Linked DNA regions of Homo sapiens: region 1 is linked to region 2. The links are contacts of gene promoters, found by promoter capture Hi-C in human tissues and cell types (Jung and others, 2019). All regions are on one chromosome and are shown on one strand. The core of a region is centred on a gene start or on the middle of the fragment in contact, and the rest is flanking DNA. Distances in the headings are between cores, read along the strand shown. Region 1 overlaps PLXNA4 (plexin A4). Region 2 holds the start of EXOC4 (exocyst complex component 4).

Region 1 (3,119 bases), core at 465-2,964, 700 kb before region 2:
CTTCAGCTTTCTGACTTCGTTGCAGGCAAACATTAGCAGATGCCCCATCCTGCAATGCTTGGCATAATTATCAGGTAGGCTCCAGGCAATAATTACTCACTAATGGTTAGCCACTGCTTTGAGCCAAGAGTCTCCTATCTGCTCTCCCTACACCAAATTCAGAGTCTTGGGTGGTAAACCTGAAGGAAAAAAAAAAACAAAAAAAAAACAGTAACCATCACCATGGCCTGGCAAAAAAACCACATTATCTAAGATATCACTCCAGGTCCTATAAAAATAACGTATGTTTACATGTGGATGGCTGATCTGAGCACAGATTGAATATATAAACGTGGCTGTTAATTCTAGACTCTGAGAAAATTCTGAGTCTTCCAAAAATAAAGGAATCCCTACAAATATTTTTAAATCTTTTTTTAAGAGGTCATACTCTGACAGAGAGCCAGAATTAATGCAATGGGACCAGCCACCTGCTCTTCTTCCCTTCCCATTTGCTTATAGAACCTCAAGGCAGTAGACTTGTTGAAGCCCAGTGTTAGAAACAGATGTGACTATTTATAAACCAAGAAAACTGAAGTGTTTTAATCCAACACAGGGTGGCAAGAAGCAGAACTGACAAGCTTTAGGAATCTGAAGAACAGGCAACAATTTTCAATAATATTACCTCTCCACTTATTGAGCATTTAATATGTGTCAAGCAGTGTGCAAGCTATTTCCCACGTATTATGTCACTTAATTGTTAGAGCAGTCCCTTATTTTACTCTTTTAATGATAAGGACACTGAACCTCAGAGAAGACAGGTAACATGCTGACGCCACACAGCTGAGTAGCCAAGGCTTGATGATGTCTGTAAATTACTTTAAAATGCATCAGCTTAAACAGAGTGGTATAATGTAAGTTAGTTCCAATCCTTACCCAAGGATGGTTAGTCGACATCTGAAGTATTGTAACTAACCAGGGCTGGTGACTTAGCCTTTGAAAGCCTTGCATCAGAGTCTACACTGTTTGTTAAAAAACATAAGAGATGTTGGAAACAATTTATCAGCAGGAAATTAAGCAGTGTCGAATATGCATAATTGGTTAGAAATGCCATCCAGGCATCTCTGCCCTTTGGGCACAAGAATCTGGCAAGCCTAGAGCCCTCTGTGGCTCCATTCTTGGCCTAGGGGTCCTACTAGGGTCTATTTCATCTCTCAAAGGATGCTGTCCTCTAATCCCACTAGAAGGTGAGCTGAAACCTGCAACCACATTGCCACATCTGCCTCAAATAAATCTTCCTTGAAATAAACTTGTAAGAGTTACTAAGTCAGTGCCTCCCAAACTTTCTCACTTCCTGACACTTGCAGAAAGTGATAATATTTTTACCACACCCTGGGGCCAGAGAGGGAGCTTCTGCTGCTGCATGCCCCTCGTGCCCTCTGGCTGTCCACCTGCAGGGTTGAGGTGACCCGCTATATCAGCAAACCTTGATACCCTTCCCCGGCACACTAGTTGAGGCAGACAGCAGGATCCACACTGAGCTTCAAAAACAGGCTGTATGGCTATTTATGTGCCTGGTTACTAACAAATATTGGTAGGTAGGGTAGAATTGAGTCTGCAACTTGCTTTTGTAGGAAGGTTGTGGAGGAGAAGGCCCATAGCTCTCACCTGCCTATAATCACTGGAAATGAGTCCCCACATAATCTGCCCATTGGGCATGGCCAAGTTGGCATTAAGTTGGGTTGCAGTGCCAGACCTGTCTGCCTCCAAAGTCTATCCTGGGTCCTGGGTGCTCCCCTGCTTCTGGAGCCTAAAGAAAGTGAATCAATGGTTATTTGTCAAACCCAAAAGGGAAGCTCTTCAGAAAATGCCATGTCAAAGGGTTCCGTCCTTGGCGCTGTGCTGTTTCATACTTTTATCCGTAAGTTGAATGAAGACTGAGAGTCACATTTATCAAATTTGCAACGGACAGATTCCAGGACTTGTGAAGGTCAAATGAGATAATATGAGAGAAGTCATTTAATAGTAGAGTAAGACTCAACCCATTGATGAGGATGAAACAAAGTTTAAGACTATCTTAGCAGCCTGAAACAGGGTCAAAACTGGAACCCCAAAAAGAAATTGAATGTGACAAACATAAATTCAAATTTTAGGCTTCAAAAAATATTAATGAATAAAGTACCAGGTGGCAGAAGTTTGTGTAAGACACACATATAATGAGGGTGGGAGAAGCTTAGAGACCCACTGGTTACGAACCAGCAGTGGGATGGGGGCTGCCCAGAAACCCTGCCACATGAATGAATTTTGACATTGGGCTTTGCTATCCACACCTCCTGCAGATGGTGACCTGCACCTGTGATCAGTCACAAAATTAGATGTGGAGTCAGACCTACCTGCACCATGAGAAGCAATGAGCTCTCCATCAATGTGCAAAGCAGTTAAAAGAGAAGGAACCCTCTATCACGTGCTACTGAAGTTGAGTTGTTCCCATCCCCTGCAAAGGCTCCCAACTTGCCAGCACAGCCAGGATGTTTGGCTCAGAGAAAAGAGGTGGCAGGAGAGTTTATCAAAACCTACAACTTAAGATTTTCTTCACAGAAGATGGAGGAAATGGCGGCAGGGGGGGACGTAAAGATAGGCAATCAATTACCAAGGAGCCCTTGAATAAAAATCTCTTTATTTCCTTGAATTTTCCTTTAATTTATCTTTTTTTTAAAAAAAAAAAAGTTTTCACCTTTGCAAAACCTTTGGACTTTTTGACCAAAGACAACAGGAAGTCAGCCAAGTTTAATGGAGTTTTCATTTTGAAAAAGATGTTATCTGCAGCTCCTCTGTGCCTACCAAGCAATATGGTACGTCTGTGGTCTAGAGACCAACTCATTAGGTGCTCTGTTTACCATCAGCTGGTGAAAAATGATAATTGTATGGAAGAATAATCACCAAGACATGGACATCACTGCCTGCAGACTTCGCCAGGAAGCTACTTCCCACTTCCTGTAGATCCGCAGCTGTTTCAGGATGTGTAATGCCCTCTACTGTCCTACCATTCAAATACTTCTCTTTTCAAGCTCAGAAAACCAAGTTTAAGGTAGGGAGAGAGAGAGAGAGAGAGAGACAATCAAACAACCTTATGTTGGGTCCAG
Region 2 (3,183 bases), core at 648-3,147:
CGGGTTCACGCCATTCTCCTGACTCAGGCTCCCGAGTAGCTGGGACTACAGGCGCCCGCCAACACGCCCGGCTAATTTTTTGTATTTTTTTTTAGTAGATACAGGGTTTCACCGTGTTAGCCAGGATGGTCTTGATCTCCTGACCTCGTGATCCGCCCGCCTCGGCCTCCCAAAGTGCTGGGATTACAGGCATGAGCCACCCGGCGCCCGGCCTGTCCTGCATTCTTAACCACTAGGCCCAACTGCCTCTCCCTTTCTCTATGAATTATTTAATTTTATAGCCCAGTTTTTGTACTTATACCATAAAAATCTTTTTTTTTTTTTTTTTTTTGAGACAGAGTTTCCCTCTGTTGCCCAGGCTGGCGTGCAGTGTGCAGTGGAACGATCTTGGCTCACTGCAGCCTCCGCCTTCTAGGTTCAAGCAATTCTCATGCCTCAGCCTCCCAAGCAGCTGGGATTACAGGCACACACCACCACGGTCCGGCTAACTTTTGCATTTTTAGTAGAGACGGAGTTTCACCATGTTGGCCAGGCTTGTCTTAAACTCCTGGCCTCAAGTGGTCTGCTCGGCTCTGCCTCTCAAAAAGTGTTGGGATTACAGGTGTGAGCCATCACACTTGGCCCAAAAATCTTATTTTCTTTAAAAGCCATTAAAATTATGATTTCCAGAAGCTATATGTTATTTCCTCATTTGAATGTTACATAATTTATTTAATTCTTCTGTGTTATTTAAAAAATGTCAATACTCTATATTTCTTTAGGAACAAAGTCCCTAGAACTGGAATTATTGGGCCAAAGGTTATGAATACTTTTAAGTTATCGTGTGTGTGTGTGTGTGTGTGTTATCTTCAACTAATTTTTAAAAATGTGAACTTCTACCAGCTCGATGTCTATTTAATAAAAGTAATTGATGTGTTCTGAGCTTGCTGCTCACAACTCCATGACCTCTGAGTTAGTTTGCTTTCTATTCCTTTAAGTTCTTCAATCTTTATTGCTACTGAGCAGGCCACCTCCTTCCTTACTTTTAAATTATTATTATTCTTGTTCCTCAGTCTAACCACTTTCCACGCACATTCTGGTCTTTTTTGTTTTGTTTTGTTCATTTGGTCTTATGAATTAATGACTAAGCCAACGGAACCAAATGCAGGAAATACTAAAAACTTACCGGTAAAAGTATTAACACAAATGTGCATTACTACTAAGTATTTCATTTAGCTTGAAAAAAAAAAAAAAGGAATCTGCAGTGTGGTCTGTTTGTTTTTAGCTTATACTGTCTTTTCTTCATCAATATTCATTTATTCCTGTACGTGTGGTTTTAGAACTATCTGGAAATATAGGAACATTGGGAAAAATTGAACTCCACATAAACCTAATGTAGAAACATTAGTTTTACAGAATACTAAAGAAAAGCATTTCTGCTTATATTCATTTTCGTATTTTATTGGATTTTTTAAAAAATCACTTGCACTTAAGGCAAAAACTTCGCACATAGACATCCGGCAGAGAACCCCTCTTTCATTTAAATACAAACCCTAACACATTTTGGCATCATCAGATAAATTTGATTTAAAGCCTGACAAAATTCTAAAAGCAAGGAAACTGAAAAAAGCTGGAAGTCAGAATAAAGATAAATGAAGACACTCATTACAAGACTTAGGAAGTTGCAGCTGGTTTAGCTTTCCTGCGCGCCCAGGAGACGGAGAAGGAAAACTACGACTCCCAGAGTGCTTAGAGAGAACACGCGCGTCGTGGCCTCAAAACTTGCTCCCTTAGTCCCGCCTCCTCACTTCAGTGATTGGATTTTCCACTTCCGCGCCTCTGGAATTCTCTTCACCCATTGGTGGAGACTCCTGCGGGGTCAAATACAGAATTTACGCACCCTTGGCTTCCTTGGAGCCTAGCGGCTCTCCCCGCGTCCAAGATGGCGGCAGAAGCAGCTGGTGGGAAATACAGAAGCACAGTCAGCAAAAGCAAAGACCCCTCGGGGCTGCTCATCTCTGTGATCAGGTGAGGGAGGCAGGAGGCAGGGTCTGGGGACTGGGGGCAGCGGCTCGACCTCCGCTTTGGAAGGGAGAAGGGTTAGCTGGGTCCCACCCTGCTCTCCCCTTTCCTCCTTGCCTCCCGCAGCCCCTCCCCAGGGCTCTAACCCCTCCCCAGGGCCCCAGCAATTCCCCCTCCACCTTTTTTTTCTGGGGTTAGCTATAGAGAGAGGAGCCCCGCCTCAGTCTTTTCTTTAGGGGCAGCACCTTCTATTACAGTCTCGGGACCCCAAAGCACGCTATTTGGGTTTGGTAGAGAAAACCAGGTGTAAAGGTGTGTTTATTGATTCCTAAAATGCTTGTTTATTGTTTGCCTGTAGCAGCACTCACTGAGAAAGGCGTCTTGTTTCCTGGACTTTGGGGTGTAAGGCCTTGGAGTCCGGAGATTCCTGTCACGAGTTGCAGATTTGTGTTTTCACACTCTGGATACTTTCAACCACCTGTGCGTGGCCACAGCCACAAATACAAGAATCTGCAGTGAGCTGGTAGGAGGACTGGGTTTGAAGGCACACATCGGTTTTCAATTTTTTGCCCTGCCTCCGCATTCTGGTCCATTCCTTAAAAAACAGAACCAAACCAATTTCAAATTATCCTCCATGCACTGCCCCTCTGCACCTCCCAGAAGATTAGGGTGGGGGTGGAGTGGGAGCGGTGGATCTTTTAGGAGCTTTTTTTTAAAAAAGCGAAATATATTGAGGATGGGGGAACCCTTTCAAGAATCTTGGATATGATGCAGGTACTGACTAAAACCAATCTAAATAAAATTTATTATGGCACGTTTTTTACGTTGTTGGCATTTGAATTTCAACTCGTTTATTTTTCATAAACAAACACTCTATTTTTCCCCACCTATACTAAACTTTTGTTTGAGTTCTTGCAAGTTTTCTGGAATGTATTGATCATCTTTTCAAAACCCAGGGCCCAACATTATCTGGTAGGTACTAAGCACTTCAATGAATGCATGTATCAAACCATTAGAACAGCTTACCACTCACTGACAAAGACACATCTTATGGGTCTTATTTAGGAGGCTTTAAGATTATGGCCTATTAAATCATTACTTTAATTTTCTTTTGGGCTTAAGAGAAAAACATCTCTGTGTGGAAATGCTTAATATACTTGGTAGGCCATACAGAGGAAGTGC

Evidence for each region. Contacts are between HindIII fragments. The study calls those that stand out against the background at their distance.
Region 1: a fragment that was not itself captured here is called in contact with the fragment with the promoter of EXOC4 in region 2 in 2 of the 25 tissues and cell types used here (aorta and dorsolateral prefrontal cortex).

Annotation. Positions count from the first base shown.
Region 1 is chr7:132,554,860-132,557,978 of GRCh38, forward strand. All of the region lies in intron 1 of PLXNA4 (plexin A4), which reads right to left. Among named protein-coding and RNA genes, the nearest start is that of PLXNA4, 20 kb to the right of the region's middle. The HindIII fragment of the contact is 3,227 bases long and covers 102-3,119 here.
Region 2 is chr7:133,251,181-133,254,363 of GRCh38, forward strand. It overlaps EXOC4 (exocyst complex component 4), which reads left to right and starts at 1,898. Exons shown (of 18, transcript NM_021807.4): 1 at 1,898-2,007. The coding sequence starts at 1,922. RefSeq lists enhancers at 1,665-1,714, 1,925-1,984. The HindIII fragment of the contact is 9,010 bases long and covers 1-3,183 here.